Linked DNA regions of Homo sapiens: regions 1 and 2 are each linked to region 3. Evidence: promoter capture Hi-C in 16 types of primary human blood cells and fetal thymus (Javierre and others, 2016). All regions are on one chromosome and are shown on one strand. Each heading gives the region's core, a stretch centred on a gene start or on the middle of the fragment in contact. The rest is flanking DNA. Distances are from core to core; before and after follow the strand shown. Region 1 overlaps MAD2L1-DT (MAD2L1 divergent transcript). Region 2 overlaps MAD2L1-DT (MAD2L1 divergent transcript). Region 3 holds the start of PP12613 (a long non-coding RNA gene).

What was found. Contacts are between HindIII fragments. The CHiCAGO score rates a contact against its expected background, and 5 or more counts as called.
Region 1: a fragment that was not itself captured here is called in contact with the fragment with the promoter of PP12613 in region 3 in 5 of 17 cell types (activated CD4 T cells, non-activated CD4 T cells, naive CD8 T cells and 2 more); the score reaches 9.5 in activated CD4 T cells.
Region 2: a fragment that was not itself captured here is called in contact with the fragment with the promoter of PP12613 in region 3 in 1 of 17 cell types (activated CD4 T cells); the score reaches 7.3 in activated CD4 T cells.

What each region holds. Positions count from the first base shown.
Region 1 is chr4:120,075,554-120,078,253 of GRCh38, reverse strand. All of the region lies in intron 1 of MAD2L1-DT (MAD2L1 divergent transcript), which reads right to left. Among named protein-coding and RNA genes, the nearest start is that of MAD2L1-DT, 9.9 kb to the right of the region's middle. The HindIII fragment of the contact is 1,023 bases long and covers 773-1,795 here.
Region 2 is chr4:120,141,097-120,144,185 of GRCh38, reverse strand. All of the region lies in intron 2 of MAD2L1-DT (MAD2L1 divergent transcript), which reads right to left. Among named protein-coding and RNA genes, the nearest start is that of MAD2L1-DT, 76 kb to the right of the region's middle. The HindIII fragment of the contact is 685 bases long and covers 1,208-1,892 here.
Region 3 is chr4:121,762,892-121,765,888 of GRCh38, reverse strand. It overlaps PP12613 (a long non-coding RNA gene), which reads right to left and starts at 1,304. Exons shown (of 1, transcript NR_024365.1): 1 at 1-1,304. SMIM43 (small integral membrane protein 43) reads left to right here and starts at 725. Exons shown (of 6, transcript NM_001384332.1): 1 at 725-1,072; 2 at 2,017-2,125. The coding sequence starts at 784. The coding sequence ends at 975. The HindIII fragment of the contact is 5,910 bases long and covers 1-2,114 here.

The DNA of each region.
Region 1 (2,700 bases), core at 35-2,534, 1.7 Mb after region 3:
AAGTAGAAAATTGACAAGATCTTTTAAGCACAAAATTTTTAAAAAATTCCTGTTTTTGCAGCCCTAGTCAGGGTACCCCTTTTGGCCATCCACTCTTAGCCAGATGAGCCAGTATTGCACCCTGGATCCTACCTCTTGTTTCTTTTCCTCCAGTTTTGGACTCTTTTCTTCCACTTTTGGATTATTTTCCTTGTTCCAATTCTGTGACTTTCCAGCCATTCAGCTCCATTGGTTTCCATTGCTGAATGGGTCTCAGGAGTTACATAGCAAGGATGGAGGAATATTAAGGACCCACTATAGTTTGCCTCAAATTAGAGTTATCTAAAATATAGTCAGATCTTTGATGCTTTCAGGATTCATATTCTGGTACCATCTAGATTGCTTGGATTTGACTCCAGTTCTCCTAGCTGGGTGACCTTAGCTAAATTATTCAACTTCCTTCTGTAACTTAATTCAGGTAATAGTAGTATCTAACTCTTGAGCTAATGAGGGATTAAATAAAATGATTCTTGTAAAGCACATAGAAATGTGCCTGGCAGATAGTATGTGGTTAATAATGTTGGCTATCATTATTATATATGTTATAAGAGTTTCTATCTCATCTGTGCCTTAAGTTGTATTATCTAAAGCCTCCTTTAGTTATGCTAAACTAAACATGTACCAACCCAGGAAAGGTGCGTGGAAAAGTGGTGAAAAGCTGTCTTATTAACAACAACAGTAACAATATAATAATAAAACAATAACAATAACATATTAGCATTAAGCCAAAGCTTCATTTAAATTATCTCATGTAATACTCAGAAAAATTATATGTGACAAGTACTATTGTTACATCCATTTTACCGATAAGGAAAATAACTCCTATATAATTCTTCTTAAATTGTCCAGATAGTCTGCTTCTAAGAAGTTTCTCTGGAACATGCTAGGCTAACATCTTTTTTTGACATATCTGCATGTGATCTCTGCTGTTGGTAGATTGCTTGGAGATTCCTGCTTCTTTTAGACAAGACCATGACACTCCCTCATTATGCAACCAGTAATAAAGTTTTTTTTTTTTATGTGATCTAAGTGGACTTTTATGACAGGATTTGTTGAAACCCCTAAGATGGCTTTTATTCTGTGCTTTGGGCAGTGGTAAATAGATGGGGTTCAAGAGTCTGGAGCACTCCTTCCCAATAAGAATGTATTTTCCTTACAGGATTGTTCTGCAAAGTCCATTATAAAGAATGATAGCTCACGCCGGGCATGGCGGCTCACACTTGTAATCCCAGCACTTTGGGAGGTCAAGGTGGGTGAATCACTTGAGGCCAGGAGTGCAAGACCATCGAAACCTTGTCTCCACTAAAAAATACAACAATTAGCTGGGTGTGATGGTGCATGCATGTAATCCCAGCTACACAGGAGGCTGAGGAATAAGGATCACTTGAACCTGAGAGGCGATGATTGCAGTGAGCTGAGATGGTGCCACCACGCTCCAGCCTGGGTGAAAGAGCAAGACTCTGTCTCAGAAAAAAAAAAAAAAAAAAAAGAATGATACTTCAAATTTCCACATAGGCATGCAGGTCAGCCATCCTAACTAGGTCTATTCCATATTTACCTAGAAGAGAGGACAAGCACGGAACACTACTATTCCCAACTCAGGTGCCTCATCCCCTAATCAATAAGGTTTCTGCAAACATCCTCAAAATCAGTGGCTTCCAAAGTGGAATATATGCAAAAAACAATCCTTTTGGGAGTATAGGAAGGAATGTTACAACTTCTATTTAATTTATGTTTTAACCTAGGAAAATAAGCTTTACTAAAAAAATGGATTTCAAAAAATGGACTGACATTGCACACTCACACAGTCTCCATGTCAGAAGGTCACGTTCTTACTCATATGTGGAAGTTAAAAAAGTTGATCCCACAGAAGTAAAAAGTACAACAGAGAATACTAGAGGCTGGGAAGGGTAGGCGGAAAGAGAGGACAGAGAGATTTGTTAAAGGAAACAAAATTACAGCTAGATAAGAGTAAGTTCTAGTGTTCTACAGCACTTGTAGGATGACTACATCCTACAAGTTAATAATAGTTTAAAATAGCTAGAATGGGGATATTGAATGTTTGAAACACAAAGAAATTATAAATGTTTAAGATGATAGATAGGCTGATTACCCTGATCTGATCACTATACATTGTATAGACCACAACATCACTATGCACCCTGTAAATATGTACAATTATTATTTGTCAGTTTTAAAAATTTAGAAAAAAAAGGGAGTCATAGGCCATGATTGGTACCCTGAGGAAATGCAAGTCAGCTGTGCCAGATTTACTGGCTCTTTCTCTTTGCAGTACTGTGCTAACAAGAACTTCAGAAAAATTAACATTCTTCCATTCCGTTTTTCAAAAGACACTCATGTTATGGAAGGAGCACGTTTGAATAAACTTTTTTTTTTTTTTGAGATGGAGTCTCGCTCTGTCACCCAGGTTGGAATGCAGTGGCACGATCTCAGCTCACTGCAAGCTCCAGCTCCCGGGTTCATGCCATTCTCCTGCCTCAGCCTCCTGAGTAGCTGGGACTACAGGTGCCCGCCACCACACCCGGCTAATTTTTTGTATTTTTTTTTTTTTTACAGGGTTTCACTGTGTTAGCCAGGATGGTCTCAATCTCCTGACCTCGTCATCCGCCCTCCTCAGCCTCCCAAAGTGCTGGGATTACA
Region 2 (3,089 bases), core at 301-2,800, 1.6 Mb after region 3:
CATGCCAGAAGGCCTCAGCATTCTGCAGTGTTTTCTAACACGCATTCATTTGTTCATCTTGTCAACAAAGACGTGTTCTCCTGAGTGCTGGGTGTTCAGTGGCGCACAGGTCGGATGAGGTCCCCACTGTCGTGGATGTGCTCTGATGTTGTGCTTTGTTTTGTTGGTGGAATCTCTGTCTTTCACCCTCACTGTCACTACCACTTGTTCCTGTTGCCACCCTCCTTGAGTGCTTACTTCTAGCAACATCTTTGTCCCCAATCCTCTAACTTGACATTTTGTAACCTTGCCTGTGTTTGGATAATCAGAAAATTAAGCCTATAGGAGTGATGGGATAAGAGGCTGTTCTTTTTATATAAAACATGAACCATTTTATGTGAATGCATACAGCTGTCAGGGCCTTTCTTGCATTCTTTCTCATCAGAGGCTTCTAATAAATAGTTAAAATTTCCAAGAAGGCAGCTTCTAGTTAAATAAGATGGTAGAGCAGAGTGGTCAAACACAGAATATTTGCCTTCTAACAGGCAGGCCTGCCTTCCAGGCCAAATCCTGCCCCCTCCTTCTGTTTAACCCATGCAAGTTCCAGTTTCCTCACCTGTAGAATGGTGGTAGTAATCATGCCCACTCACTGGGATTATTACAGGGATTAAATAAGACAATGTACTCAGAGCTCACAGGAGCCACTAACATCAACTATCATTTTTACAGAGCCTAGCACATAGTAGACATTCAACATATAGTTAGAAATAGGAGTTACGGGCCAAATGATGTGAACAGCTTTCTTAATTTCTTTCTTTTTAAAAAATATATTTTTCTTGTTTCCAGTGGGGTTGGAAGCTTTCTCAATTTCTTGAACCAAGATATTATAGGCAATTTTATTATGTTCTTGGAAGCACAGATAAAGCTTGGGCCCAAGTATGCTTACAGAGCTTTCTAAAATGCAGAACTGATGAGATTCCTAAAGATCAGGTATGATGGTGAAGTAGGTGCGGTGACTCAGGCACCACACATTTAGAGGACAATAAAGCAACACTGTGGCCCCATGCAAGTGATGAGAGAAGTCCCTGGAATATTCACCTTCAGTGTTGGGTTTTCCTTTCTTTCTTGCACCTCATGGCTGTTTGCTGAATACGCAGTGGTATTTCCATTTCCTACAGGAGCTTCGGGTCTTTCAAGATGTCAAAGAAGAAGTTTTACAAACTAAGCTTTTACAGGGAAAGTCCCTGCGGTGAACAGAGCATGAGTTGTATGCCATAATAAAGGCAGGTGAGAAAATGGAGATAAAGGCAGATACCCTGACACTTGAATCTCGTGAGGTGGACAGAACAGGTGAGGCCTGGCCTTGGAGGGCAGGGGTCCAGGAAAGGCAGGATGAGATCTGCAAGGAGAGGAGAGATCTCTTGTAATGTGCCAGGAGAGCCCCTGAGATGGCTAGCCAAAGGCCCTGTAGAACAAAGCCCTAGGCTACTGTTGACATGCACAGCTCCTCATCTACAGAAGGGAGCAGCCTCTGAAGCCCATCTGTGGATTATTCAGCAAAAGGAGCCAGCCTGTAGTGTCAATTGTGCAAGGCCCCATGGGAATTGACCCCTGGATTACAGGTTCCCTGCCAATCACCCAAAAAGAGGTGGTTCTTGTTAGCCCCACATCCCTCAGAATGATAGTGCTGGTACGGAAGGAAGTATTTCAGTCACTAATTGAGTCGGGACGATTGATGAATATATCACTCATTTTGGGCAAACCCTTCAAATTTAGAAACATTACTGCTGAAAGACAATGACTTTAGTTTTTTAAAATAATAGTAATAATGTGAAATAGAAAAGGCAATAAAGGTCAAAAAGCGCATAAATAAGAAAAATGTAATATTAATCATAAACTATGAGCTAGAAGCTTGTAGACTCCAACCAGCAAACTTACAAAGTAGGGATTTGTCAGCATTTTACACATGGCAAATGACAACTCAGAAAAATTAAGTGTCTTGCCCAAGGGTAGCAAGTCAGTTAACAGCGGTCATGAAAACAGCCAAATACTGAGTACTTTATGCCAAGTAATTTTAAGTAATTCTATCTATAATTAGTTATGATACCAAGTATATAATACAGATAATTACCAATTTTACATATATTCTCTCATGTATAACTCATGCCGTTCCTAGAAGGAAGGACTATTATTATTATTCCCACTGCACAGATGGGAAAACCAAGGTAGGAAATACTAAGTGACTTCCTCAAGGTCATATTTAATTAGTAGTAAACCAAGGCTGTTTGACTTGGAACCTGTGTCCTTGGCCGCATCCTTTCCATCCTCTGTTTTGTAAAGAAATTTCTTGATCATCAGAAATCACACTGAAATGGGAGAGTTCTCTGACCCCCATCACAGGACATGTGACGGGTGTGGCTCATCTGTTCGGTCACTGCCACTGCTCAAACCCCTTACTGGAGGGGGAGCACACAGATGGACAGATGCAGGAACCCAAGTGGGCGTGTGTTACAATGCACTCTTTTAGCCTGTAGACCCAAATCTCATCTTGAATTGTAGCTCCCATAATTCCCACGTGTTGTGGCAGGGACCCAGTGGGAGATAATTGAATCATGGGGGCAGGTCTTTCCCACGCTATTTTCATAATAGTGAATAAGTCTCAGAAGATATGATGGTTTTATAAAGGGTAGTTTTCCTGCCCAAGCTCTCTTCTCTTGTCTGCCGCCATGTGAGACATGCCTTTCACCTTCTGCCATGATTGTGAGGCCTTCCCAGCCATGTGGAACGATGAGTCCATTAAACCTCTTTCTTTTGTAAATTGCCCAGTCTCAGGTATGTCTTTATCAGCAGTGTGAGAACAGACTAATACAAGTGTTAACCAGCTCAATGGACCTTTTTGCAAGGGCAGAGGGCCAGTGTGACAGCTTTCTGTATCCTGAGCTCTTGTCCAGCATTCCGAAAGAATGGGGTCACACATGGACTTGAAGGATGGTGAATGTGGGGGTTTTATTGAGTGGTGGAGGTGGCTCTCAGTGGGATGGATGGAGAGCTGGAAGAGGGATGGAGTGGGAAAATAATCTTCCCCTAGGGTTTGGCCACCCAGCAGTCAA
Region 3 (2,997 bases), core at 55-2,554:
TTTAGGGACTCAAGAAACACTTTGAGTAAACTTGTTTTCCTCTTTTCACCAAATAAACTGAATTTGAGGCCAATATTTGAAATCTTTGTGCTATATAACTTCTGAAATACATTGTATTCTTAATGCGTTTCCAAGTGACCTGTTGTCCATAGAAAAGTACACTCAACACTGAATGTATCTGCTACTCTGAAGAGCAAGACAGCTCGAACTGGAATTCACTCAGACACCTCATAGCACGAAATCATCTCATAGCCTTTCAGACCCCATCTTCACTGCCACCTTTCATTCTTTTGGGTCTCTGGGCCATGACATCCCCTGTCCTTTCGGAAAGCAGGAACGGAGGGATATAACGAAATAAATTAATTGGGAACGCAGCGGAGCTAGGGACCCTACTGGATGTTGGGGGTGGAACTTTTAAATCATTTACAAAACACCAGTCCCGACCTCCCCTGGAAGACTGAGCTGTTACCTCTTCTGGCGTCCGTGCCCGCGGAAGTTCGCTCCTAGGGAAGTCGCTCGCGTCCTCAAGAGCACCTGAGAGGATCTCGGCGAAGCGGAAGGCTTTGGTGCCAGCTGGGAGAGTCTGCGCCGGATTTCCTCAGCTCCTTGGCGCGTTTCCTCGGAGCCGGGGGAGGCAAAGCACGGACCCCGGAGTCGGCGCCCATAGCGGGACGCCCTCGCGAGGGGCGGGAGTGCGGGAGGTGGGTGTGCGGGCGGCGCGCTCGCCCTCCAGCTGCAGCCCGCGCCGAGCGCGCAGGGCCAGCGAGCGCCGGCGCCTCCAGCATGGAGTGGGAACTCAACTTGCTGCTCTACCTGGCGCTCTTCTTCTTCCTGCTCTTCTTACTTTTCCTCCTGCTCTTCGTGGTCATCAAGCAGCTGAAGAACTCCGTGGCCAACACGGCCGGGGCGCTCCAGCCCGGGCGCCTCTCGGTGCACCGCGAGCCTTGGGGCTTCTCCCGAGAGCAAGCGGTGTGACCCGAGTGCGGGCACTGGCGGGAGGGCACCGAGCTGCGCGGGCGCTGGGCTGGGTCTCCGCCTCGATTCTCCGTCCTCGCGGCCTCCCAGCTTCCAGGTGCGGGGCTCGGCGGCTCTGACGGGTCCGTTCCGGCGTGAGGCGCAGGGACCCGCGTCTCCGCTCCTGTGGGAGGCCCGGGGCTCGCAGCGCGTTCGGGTGCCAGGGACGGTGGGTGTATGGGGTCTGGGCTGGCGCTGTGCTCTTCGAGAGGGACCCTAAGCTGTTCCAGGGCTGGGAGAGATGGCGAAAAGAGAATTCGCCCTTTGGAGCCGGAATGACTTTGGACAACTGCAAGCTCTTTTCTGTCCAACTGCATTTTAGTTATACCCAAGGAGTGGAAAAGTAAATTATTCGGATAATGCAGTTTAGCCACTTTCGAACAAAATCGCAGGTTAACCTGAATATCCACATTTTTGAGAAAGACTGTGTGGGCTTTGGGACGGGTGGCAGGAGGAAACGGGGCGCACTTAAAGTATTTTAAATATTGCTTTAAATATTTTTGCGCTTTGAGAGATGGTAAATGGGGTTCGTCTGGTGGTGCTGGGGTGGGGCGTGGGGGAGAGAAGATTCAGTCGTCCATTTGGAGGGAGGAATCCCTTCCTCCCGGTGATCCTTACTCATATTCTAGCCACCAACCACGGTTAGTGCTTGCGGATTGCCGTGCAGGGTAGGTTTCGAATCTGGGACAGCGGATGGTGAACGTTACAGTGAGAGTCATTTGGAAGATGCCTTAGGGTTGGCCGGTACGTGACCTTTTGGGTGATGGCATGGAGGGCCAGCTAAAAGAGGTACTGTTTGCATAGTGTAGGGAAACAGGAAAAAGGACGGAGAGGCGGGTCTGTGGTTTCAGGTTAAATTACTAGAGCTTTTGCAGAAGATGGGCGGGCAGGAGCAAACTCGAGTACCAGTATGCCCTAAGTACCCTCTCGCTAATGTTAGTTTGGGAAATATCTTCATCCTTCAGTAGCTTTTCCCTAGATTTATGTCATCTCTCTTTCTAGAGCCGAGCTGCTGCCCTTGACTGGTGCTCAGGGGACCACAGCTGCAATGACAGTTTGGGCCTGCAAAAAGAAGGCTGGAACAACGGGAGATGGAAGCTTTCTGCAAATGGTAAGTTGGGATGACGCATGGTTTCACGTTGGCCTTAGTTATGACTAAACTTCTAAAGATCCAGGGCCTAAAAACATGTTGGTTCAGGATGGGGGAAATGGGTACAAGGAAGGAAAGGGCACTCTCCCACTCAAATCTGGTGAGCTTCTACCAGATCCACAAAGCCAAACTGACTCCTAACTCATTGCAAGAATCAGTGTCTTAGTAGAGGATTGTGGAAATTTGAATGAGATGTCAGGAGTGTTTGCACTTTTAATAATCATTCGGCCCTTTTGAAAAACAGTGCGGGGGTTCATGGGGTGAAATATGTGATGCAGATATACTCAATCTTCAGTAAGGGAAGATTTGGGTTTAGTCATGTCAGTGTGGGATAAGCTAAGTCATAACTATAGTATTGAAAATACTAATTTTAGACACAAAGACCATATAGAGAGGCTAAAAACAATGAAATACTAAAGTTTGCCTAAGTTGATAATATAAAAGTGAAGTGTAAGACAATTATTTTAATGCTTCAAAGGAAAAATAGTCTCAGGTGAATAATTTTGGCCCAAGACATTAGATAATTTCCCACTTTCTATTTCACTCTCCCCAAATAGGCCTGTTCTTAATGAAGTAAGAGGTTTACTTTAATTATTATGGTATGAGCAAATCCTCACCTCTTTATCAGAGTTATGGTAAGACTTGATTTGAATTCCCAGTTTGAACTCCCTGAATCAACTGCAGTGATTCTGTATTGTGCTTTGAACAATAGTTCTCTAATTGGTTGATATCTCTGCAGTGGCATTTAGTTAAAAGGTTGTATGGTTAATATGGACATTGAAGATGAGTGTGGGAGTAATTAATTAGCAATTATAGTTGTTTGTAAGGATTGA